3 separate regions of the Homo sapiens genome follow, and regions 2 and 3 are each linked to region 1. Evidence: promoter capture Hi-C in 16 types of primary human blood cells and fetal thymus (Javierre and others, 2016). All regions are on one chromosome and are shown on one strand. Each heading gives the region's core, a stretch centred on a gene start or on the middle of the fragment in contact. The rest is flanking DNA. Distances are from core to core; before and after follow the strand shown.

What was found. Contacts are between HindIII fragments. The CHiCAGO score rates a contact against its expected background, and 5 or more counts as called.
Region 2: a contact is called between the fragment with the promoter of HYKK here and the fragment with the promoter of IDH3A in region 1, in 1 of 17 cell types (naive CD4 T cells). The highest score is 5.2, in naive CD4 T cells.
Region 3: a contact is called between a fragment that was not itself captured here and the fragment with the promoter of IDH3A in region 1, in 1 of 17 cell types (erythroblasts). The highest score is 5.3, in erythroblasts.

Annotation. Positions count from the first base shown.
Region 1 is chr15:78,147,804-78,150,904 of GRCh38, forward strand. It overlaps IDH3A (isocitrate dehydrogenase (NAD(+)) 3 catalytic subunit alpha), which reads left to right and starts at 1,559. Exons shown (of 11, transcript NM_005530.3): 1 at 1,559-1,627. The coding sequence starts at 1,601. LOC124903534 (a long non-coding RNA gene) reads right to left here and starts at 1,416. Exons shown (of 2, transcript XR_007064725.1): 1 at 1,305-1,416. RefSeq lists a silencer at 1,519-2,098. The HindIII fragment of the contact is 1,572 bases long and covers 1,343-2,914 here.
Region 2 is chr15:78,506,059-78,509,159 of GRCh38, forward strand. It overlaps HYKK (hydroxylysine kinase), which reads left to right and starts at 1,519. Exons shown (of 5, transcript NM_001013619.4): 1 at 1,519-1,613. The HindIII fragment of the contact is 14,973 bases long and covers 109-3,101 here.
Region 3 is chr15:78,483,245-78,486,345 of GRCh38, forward strand. IREB2 (iron responsive element binding protein 2) reads left to right here. Exons shown (of 22, transcript NM_004136.4): 11 at 74-190; 12 at 1,517-1,676; 13 at 2,461-2,596. Among named protein-coding and RNA genes, the nearest start is that of HYKK, 23 kb to the right of the region's middle. The HindIII fragment of the contact is 2,229 bases long and covers 361-2,589 here.

The sequences.
Region 1 (3,101 bases), core at 309-2,808:
TGGTCAGAGCTGTGCCTGAAGGGGAGGGCAGGTTGGCAGGTGAAGAGGCTGTTGTAAGAGCCTGGGCCTGAGGTGGTCTGGCCCGAAGGAGGGCAGGGGTGACATTGGGGATGGAGGAACTGTGGGAGAACACTTCAGGATGGGACTGCCAGGGCCTGATGAGGGGAAGGGGCCCAATGGAAAGGGGTTGATAAAAGCCCTCCTTCCTGACAAGGCCACAGACTTAGCTGCAGTTTATTATTTAGGTCATAAAAGCTCTTGGGATCACTTCTCTACTGCACTCATCACCTCTCTGGGTGGGTAGGCAGCTCCTCTCTGGATAGAACTCTTCCCAGGGTAGGGTAGCAGAGACCTGGTTTAAACACCTGACCTCCCCTGGCACCCAGCTAGAGGCCTGGCCATCAGCAGGAACTCAGGAGTTTGTGATGGACAGGGAGAGGACAAGGGGAAAGGTGAGTATGGATGTTATTTCTTCAGAGAAGCATTCCCTGACCTCCAGGTTAGGTTTGAATCAGGTTGCCTGATTTTGCCTTGCCATAGCTCCTTGCTCTTTTGCTTCTTGGCGCAACAGTTTTAATGACATGTGTGTGACACTTGATTGAAGCCTGTCTTTCCTACTGGACACTAAGCCCCAGCACTTAAAACAGTGCCTGGTGTCTAGTTGACCCTCAGAAATATTTGTTGAGCTAAATAGACAGATTAGTAGTTGCCTGGGATTGAGGACAGGAGCGGGATTGACTATAAACGGACACAAGGAACATTTTCATATGCTCAAAAACTGGATTGTGGTGATGGTTGTGCAACTGTTTACATTTACTAAAAATCATCAAACTGTACACTTACAGTGAGTAAATGTTACTATATATACATTATACCTCAATAAAGCTGGTAAAAAATAAAATTCGGCCAGTCGCAGTGGCTCACTTTGTGAGCCTGGGGCAAGCAGATCGCTTGAACTCTGGAGTTCCAGACCAGCCTGAGCAACATAGCGAGGCCCCATCTCTACGGAGAAAAAAAAAAAAAAAAAAAAAGAAAAAGAAAAGAAAAAACAAAGTTGGGCTGGGCTTAGTAATTACTTGATCCCAGGAGGTCGAGGCTTTGTAGTGAACCTGTTCGCGCTACTGCACTCCAGCCTGGGCGACAGAGTGAGACCCGGTCTCAAAAAAAAAAAAAAAATCAAAATTTGTGGAATAAGAAAATTATGTGTCTTTCTCCACGGGATTGTAAATTCTATGAGGAGCGCTATATCCCCAAGATCCTAGAACATTAATCAGCACCTAGTAGGTGTGGAACAAACGTCTTACCTTAACAGCGAGTCAATGAACCAGGGAGGGGAGGAAGAAGCTTTCCCGGAGATGCCGGCCCCTCAGTTTCCGGGTTCGCCTGGCGCTCAGCCAGGCCAGTCACAGAGAGACGAGCCCGGCGATTCGCCAGCGGAATGTCCAGGGGCGGGGCAGCGAGCGAGCGCGAAGCAATCCTGAGGCGGTCTAGGGGGCGGGGCGTTCAGGGGGCGTGGCCGTGCAGGGGCGGGCTCCGAGCGTGGGGTGGGCGCTTGCGCACTGCCGCTGCGGCTGTTGCTGCGGAGCCAGGAGGGGAAGCGATGGCTGGGCCCGCGTGGATCTCTAAGGTGAGCGCTGGCAGGCCGGCGTGTGGCAGGCAGGCAGGCCGCGAGGGCTGGCAGGAGAGCCGGTCGCGTGCCGGGTGTGGGCGGGCGCGTGGGCCAGACAGGGAGGCGGTGGCTGCCCGCGGGGACAGCTTGGGAGCCGGTCCTGGTCGCCCGTGCCCCGCGCTCCGTGGCCGGCTCGCAGTGTATGGGCCGCCCCGGGCCGGGTCAGCAGCGCAGAGGCGGGGACGGCGTCAAGGTCAAGGCGGGGGGGCGCCGGCCCTGCTCCTGCCGAGACCCGGCTGCCGTCACCCGCATCCGCCCAGGCCAGAGCCCAGGCTTCGCGCCGAGCCCGGGAAGGTCACGGGAGCCTCTGTCCCGGCTCCGCCATCCGGGCCGCTTCCCCGGCTGCGGCCCTGCTGCGGGACTGATCCCCTCAGCACTGCCCACACCTCTCATCCGCTGTCTGCGCGGCCCTTGGCCGGGGAACCGCAGGTGCCACGGGCACTGGCGTTGAGCTTGGGAGGTTTTCCCAGGTGAGAGAATCCGGGGGCCCTTTTCCCTATCAGATTGTTTTCCCTTTGGCGCTCTTCCCAGTCAGACCTCTAGTGCTCTTGTAGCTATTTCCCCTTCATAGGATAGGGCATCTTACACCTCGGAATTACCGTCTGAACCTTCGGAGAGAGAGACCAGCAGAGCCTTCCTTTTACCTTTCATTGGTGGGAATCCTGCAATCTGGAGCGCTTTAGCTCTCCTTGACAGCTCAGATGCCAGAGCTGGAAAGGGTTTCAGATCATCTATGCAGTTCCGTAGCTTCTCAGTGGAACTAACCTGTGCCTGAAGAAGAATTTGCTCAAGGTCACACAGGAGGTCGGTGTCAGAGCAGGGAGAGGAACCTAGGTGTCTTGGTTCCCATTTCCCAAGGTCACATAGCAAATGATGGTACAGGCCATCAGGCCTCAAGTCTCCTGTTGCTATGAAAGGGTGGTCCCCTAGAAATCTATAAACAATTTAACGTTTTTCTGTAAGTTTGATACTACTTTTCTCCCATTTTTTCGGTTTAAAGAGAGGTCCAGAGATGCACTGTTATTTAAGGAAAAGATCTCTGTACTGGAATTTAGGAGTCTCAGATTTAAATCCTAGCAATGCCACTGATTGGCTGTGTGACCCTAAGCAAATTACTAAACATCTCTAAGCCTTAATATGCCCATCTGTGAATATCTATACTTACATCACAGAATTGTTTGAGTATTAAATAAAATAATGTATGTGAAAGCACTTGGTATGTACAGAAGGAAAACAAAAATCTGAAGCTTTCTTATCAATATGTTTATCTGTCTCCAACAGACAGTGGTTTTCATGGGCATCATTAACTGGTTTTTTTGTTCAATAACTAGATTCTACTTTGTCACCCTCTTCAGACCCAGATTTGCTTGTGATGATAACTCTTATGTCACATTTGCTCCTAAAAGTAAAGCAACTTCTGTGTCACTGTGAA
Region 2 (3,101 bases), core at 269-2,768, 360 kb after region 1:
TAAAGGAATGAGATATTAATTATGTTCCCCTGGGGTTGTGAAAAACAGCCCTGCCTTTTGGAGATTAGAAGTGAAGCAGGTAAGAACCATATCTAAAGCAGGAGAAGAAGCTTCCCTCAGTAGGTGGTTGATAGGGGTCTGGGAATCATCCAAGTTAATCAGGGTGACTATAGATAATCCGAGTGTGTTATATCCTGACAGAAAACAAAGGGTGGATGTGCATTGGCAAAAACAAAATAAGAAACCAATTTGCAGGCATGAGTGGACCAGTACCCAGGACTCTCTTCCAGTAGCCTACAGTAGATAGAGGGCTCTGACTTATCGGAGAAGTCCTGCTTGGCTGGAGAAGGGCATCAAGCTGTTTATCAGCGCCTCATGCCCTTAACAGTTAAGACCATCCAACTAACCTGGCTGTTACTCCATGAATCTCGTGCAGCTTTCTGAAAATCATGGGGTCTCTGCGGACTTTCCTGCAGAAAGAGAGCCCACTGATTCCACTACCTAGATAAAGGCGTGGTGGTGGGCCCCTGTAATCCCAACTACTCGGTGTAAGAATTAAAGAAAGAGGAAAGAAACACGAAAAGTGGCTTGGTGGTCATAAGAGGTTTATTTTAGAGAAAACCTGAGAGGGGCGTCTGGCCAAGTTAGGTCAGAGGCACACTCTCTTACAGACTAAGTAAGTTTTTAAGGATTCGGAGTGGGAGAGTTTATCAGAGGCTTGGACTGCTTCTGTGTCTCTTTGTTGTGCTTATCTCGGAGGGAGAGTTGTGTGTCTGTTCCCATACATCTTTCTGCAGCTGCAGACATACCCCCTGAGTCTAATTTTTGTATTTTTAGTAGAGAGGGGTTTCACCATGTTGGCCAGGCTGGTCTCGAACTCCTGACCTCAGGTGATCCTCCCGCCTCGGTCTCCCAAATTTCTGGGATTACAGGCGTGAGCCATCTGCGCCCTGCCTAAACTGTTCGGGTTCTAACATTCCAGCATCCTCCTGCGGAACGCAGCCAGGCCTTACTCAGGCCTTCCAATCAGGACCCTTACAGTTCCTGGGGCTGGGATTGCGAGTCTCTCTGGGGCCACGCTTTCTAAGCGTATCACTTCCAGGATACGTGCCTCCAACAGAAGGAATGAAGGCTAGGAAACAAAAACGTGGATGCGGGTGAGGAGCTGTCAGTGTTACCGCCACGACAACGTGGACCCTGCGAAACTCGGAGGTGCCACTCAAGAGCCGAAAGCCTGCCCACTCGGGGTGGGGCGGCAACCCGGAGAGCCAATCAGGAATAAGGAGTCCGGTTCATGAAAAGGTAGCCGGATTCTGACTGGGATACTCACTGTGAGAAGGCTGGGCGGAGTTGCAGAAAGTCAACAGAAGCCGAATCTCTGAATTTCTGTTCGCAGCCTCCTAGGCGGGGCCGGGAAAAAAATCCAGTAGTCTGCGCTGACTGGGCGGCGAGGGACCGGGAGGAGCCAATCAGAAGTCAGGACTCGCGGGGCTTGGAGGAGGGGCGCGGGCGCTGCGGCCCCTGCTCTACCTCCTAGCGCCGGTGCGCGGCCGAGGCCGCACTACCTGTCTGCGGGAAAGCGGGATCCACCCCAGGACGTCGGGTCGCTGCCGGTGAGCCAAGGAGGGGGAAGCAGAGACGAGCCCTGCGTCCCCGCTGCGGGAGTCGGGGTCGCCCCCGAGGGCAGGGAGGCTCGCTGCAAGTGTGGAGCCGGGAGTCCTATGCCTCAGGCTCCTCCAGCCCGCGCTATCCTCAGCTCGCTGCGTGCGTGATGGGCAAGTCACCCTTCTTCCCGGACCTCACCTGTAACCTAGGAGGGCTGAGCTGGGCCCCCAGAATGAAAGCGTGGCACCCGAGAAGCTGTCGAGGCCAGCCCTCCCGGGTCTGTGTGGGGTCGCTGGCCGAGGGCTGTGCCGGCGCCTGGCCGGTGTCTACTGGGAGCAGTCTCTGAGCTCCGCTGAACCTCACTTACTCATGCGCCCTCCTCCTCTCTTTTCCTGCCTCTTGGTTCAGCAGCCCCTCTGCAGCCCGCTCACCCACCACTTTTTCCCCTTCACCCACCAGGAAGACCCTTAAAAGCACCTAGTAATGCACTGTTGTCTTTGAAAAACTGCAGATGCTAGATTCCCCACCTTTCTGTTTCATGATCCCCTTGGGGTTGAACTGCCCCGTGAGTCTGTGGAATGAAGGTCACCCTTGGTTCACCATTTAATATTAAATAAGGGACTAGCCTAGGGGCTGAGAATACAGAGATTGACTGGGTATAATCCCTTGGAAGGACGCAGCAAAAGGGAATGTAGGAGAAGAAAGGTAGAGTTGGAAGACATGCTAAGGTAGAATTTACTAGACTTTGTTACACGTTGGGAGTGAGGGACAGGAAAGAATCAAGAATGACTCCTGTTTCTTGTCTGGTATACTTTGCACAAAGTACAGAGCTTAAGTTCCAGCCCCCTCCCGGCTGCAGGACAAAGGTGGTGAGATTCTGACGCAGATCTTGGAGTTGGAAATCACACTTGCTTCCTGCGGGCTTTTTCAGGAGCTAAATACTGTTGGCCGGATATATAGACCAACAGCCTATAGTACCTGAATTCCTCCTCTCCCTTTCAATGAAGTAGGAAAAAAAGTTAATAATTTTTAAAAATGTGTGAGTGGGCAACATAGCGAGACACTGTCTCTAAAAAAATAAAAATAATAAAATCAAAAAGACAGCCATGATGGCTTGCACCTGTAATCCCAGCACTTTGGGAGACCAAGGTAGGAGGATTGCTTGAGCCCAGAAGTTCGAGACCAGCCTGGGCAACATAGTGGGACCCTCTCTCTCCAAAAAAAAAAAAAAAAAAAAGGCCAGGCATGGTGGCACCTGCCTGCAGTCCCAGCTATTTGGGAAGCTCAGGTGGGAGGATCCCTTGAGCCCAGGAGTTGGAAGCTGCAGTAAGCAGTGATTGTGCCACTGTACTCCAGACTGGGTGACAGAGACCTTGTCTCAAAAACAAAAAAAAAAAAATTCCCCTCCATACAAAGGAGACATTTGGTTAAGACAGACATGTCTGATAAACATATTTTTTTCTTTGTTTTTATTTACTCTCAAGAGTTGACTTGAT
Region 3 (3,101 bases), core at 225-2,724, 340 kb after region 1:
GTAATGCTTCAATTGGAATCTGTCGTAAGGAATTAATTCTAATTCCTTGTTCTTTCTCTTTCTCATTTCTTAGGTGATCCAGATTAATCTGAATTCAATAGTTCCATCTGTTAGTGGTCCAAAAAGACCTCAGGATAGAGTTGCTGTGACAGATATGAAAAGCGATTTCCAGGCTTGCTTAAATGAAAAGGTAGGTTACTTTATTCTTATCCGTGTTTTTCAACCCGCTTTGTGCTAAGTAGTAAAGAACCAACAAGGTGACCCATAAACTCAATTCACTGCTATGTTTTATATATTATGGCACACACCAGCAGCCCCCTTATTTTCCTTCTGTCTAATGTGCAAGTCAGTCATTAGGTAAGCTTGTTCCCAGTTCCATTGTGAGGATCAGAGATTGATTGTGTCTATTTAAATTAAAATTATATACAATTTAAAATTGAGTTTCTTAGTCACAGTAGTCTCATTTTTAAATGCTGAATACATATGGGTCTTGTATTGATGAACAGCATAGATAATTGAATAGTTACATCATCACAGAAACTTTTTTTTTTTTTTTTGAGACAGAGTCTCACTTTGTTGCCCAAGCTGGAGTGCAGTGGCACAATCTCGGCTCACTGCAACCTCCCCCCTCCCGGGCTCAAGCGATTCTCCTGCCTCAGCCCCCAAAGTAGTTGGAATTACAGGAGTCTACCATCATTCCTGGGTAATTTTTGTATTTTTAGTAGAGACAGGGTTTCACCATGTTGGCCAGACTGGTCTTCAACTCCTGACCTCAAGTGATCTGCCCACCTCAGCCTCCCAACAGTGCTGGGATTATAGCCATGAGCCACCGCACCTGGCCTACAGTCATAAAATTTGGTAAATGTGACCGAGTAGCAAGTGGTCTCTGGCTTTTGAGGGTTTGTATTTTCTGTCTGAGAATCACAGTTTTAGTCTTGTCACTTTCTCTATTCTGAGATCTCTAGTACTTGGCTTTCCTTTCAGAGCCTTTCTTTTTATGATTTCTTGACTTTTTGTTCAGAAAGTGTTAAACTTGTACAAAAACAAAATAGTCCACTGAATTGCCATGTACCTGTCAATTAGCTTCAATAATTAGCAACTCATAGCCAATCTTGTTTCAGCTATGCTACACTCACACACATAGGATCCCTTTGGAGGAAATCTTCGGGGTCATTTTAACAGAAAAAAATTTCTGCCATCTCTTGAGAATTACTATAAACAGGGATGATTAAGAACAACAAAGCCAAATGAGATCTGGATTCTGGGTGGTAGGCTGGACTCGCTTAGTAGATAAAAGTTTTGCTTGTGAACATCACCAGACTCCTGTCGTGCCCATGCAGATTTATGCTTCAGCTGAATTACAACTACTGAATGTTATGGGCCTTTAGCATCACTCACAAAAAGGATTTTTAATGTTAAATCATCAAATGTCCGGTATCTGCTATGTTTTCTGCCAGTCTTTTATTCTGTACATACCCAGAATATTTAGTTTATATTTTTGTGGAAATTTGTATAGGTTGGATTTAAAGGCTTCCAAATTGCAGCTGAAAAACAAAAGGATATTGTCTCCATTCATTATGAAGGAAGTGAATATAAGCTGTCTCATGGATCAGTGGTCATTGCTGCAGTTATCAGTTGTACCAATAATTGCAATCCATCTGTCATGCTTGCTGCAGGTGGGTTGTGGTTTATGGCCATACTTTTTCTTTTTCCTTAATTATTGTTGGCTTTTCTGTTATTGTAACTTTGTTTCTTAGATGATGCATGAGTGTCTACATTTGATATTGAGAGACTTTCTAGTATTTTAGTTAGGTCTTAAGGAGCCTGAGTTTGATTTATGTTGTTTTTATTACACCGAAGGTAAATTTACTGTTTACTATAACTTACCTGTCAATTAATTTTAGGTTGTATCTGCTTCTCTTGTTAATTTAGAACTATAGTTAATTAGCAGGTATTTCTTGATTATCTAGAAGTTAACCATAACAGTGTGGTAGATTTCATTAAAAGTTATAAAAGTAGTAAAAGATCATTGTCTTGGCAAGGATTGTAAATGAAATTAATTTGTATGCCCATTGGAACAATTCCTTAGTTGTATAAAACCATGTATAATGTGTTACATTGCTCTTATTGTAATTATGACTTTAAAATGGTTTGCTTTAGAAAAAAGAAGAAAGAGAAAAAATGGTTTTGTTAACATGTACTTATATATGTGCACCTTTTGTTTACTCTGTGTGAATGATGTCAGCCTGTATCTTAATAATTTTCAACATAAAGGCTGTAATTTTAAATTTGTTGTAAATGAAGCAAATCAGTAGAATAAAGTGGACAAAATAATGACAGTAAGTTTATGAATTCATACTTTAATCTGTTAAATAAATTACTTCTCACTTTTTACTTTAATATGGGTGAGAGAGGGAAAGAAACATTGCCATAATAAATCATTGTTTGTTGGCTGTGCAGGTCTTTTGGCTAAAAAGGCTGTTGAAGCTGGTCTGCGTGTTAAACCTTATATAAGAACAAGTTTATCTCCAGGCAGTGGGATGGTTACACATTACCTCAGTTCAAGTGGAGTATTACCATATCTAAGTAAGCTTGGGTAAGTAACAGCTATCGCACTTCATATTGATATTGGTGTTCAGTAGGTACTGAAGCTGCTTGTTTGTGCCTTTCATATACAAAGAGAAGATAGAAAAAATATGCTTTAGTTTTACTTGCTACCTTGCCATTACCATACAATTTTTGATGCCTTATCACTCAGGAAACACTTATTGGGCATATCAAATGAGCAAAGCACCAGGTTGGATACACAGAAGTAGGAGATGTGGTCTTAGCTTCAAGATACTTAGTTGGGAAGACAAGACAAACAAGTACAACCAAATAACAGTTACAGTGTAAGAAACGATACCAAGTATGCACAATTTCTGTGAGTTGTGTAGGTCAGTTCAAAAAAGAAAGAAATCTTATAGTTTGCATTTATTAACTGAAAATTGTCTTAATTTTAGTTTTATGAGGTTATTGGGTCTATAATACATAAGTTTAAATTGTCCCTGAACTTTGGAGAAAGTAACTTATGTTTTTTGGGCTGGGCGCGGTGGCTCACG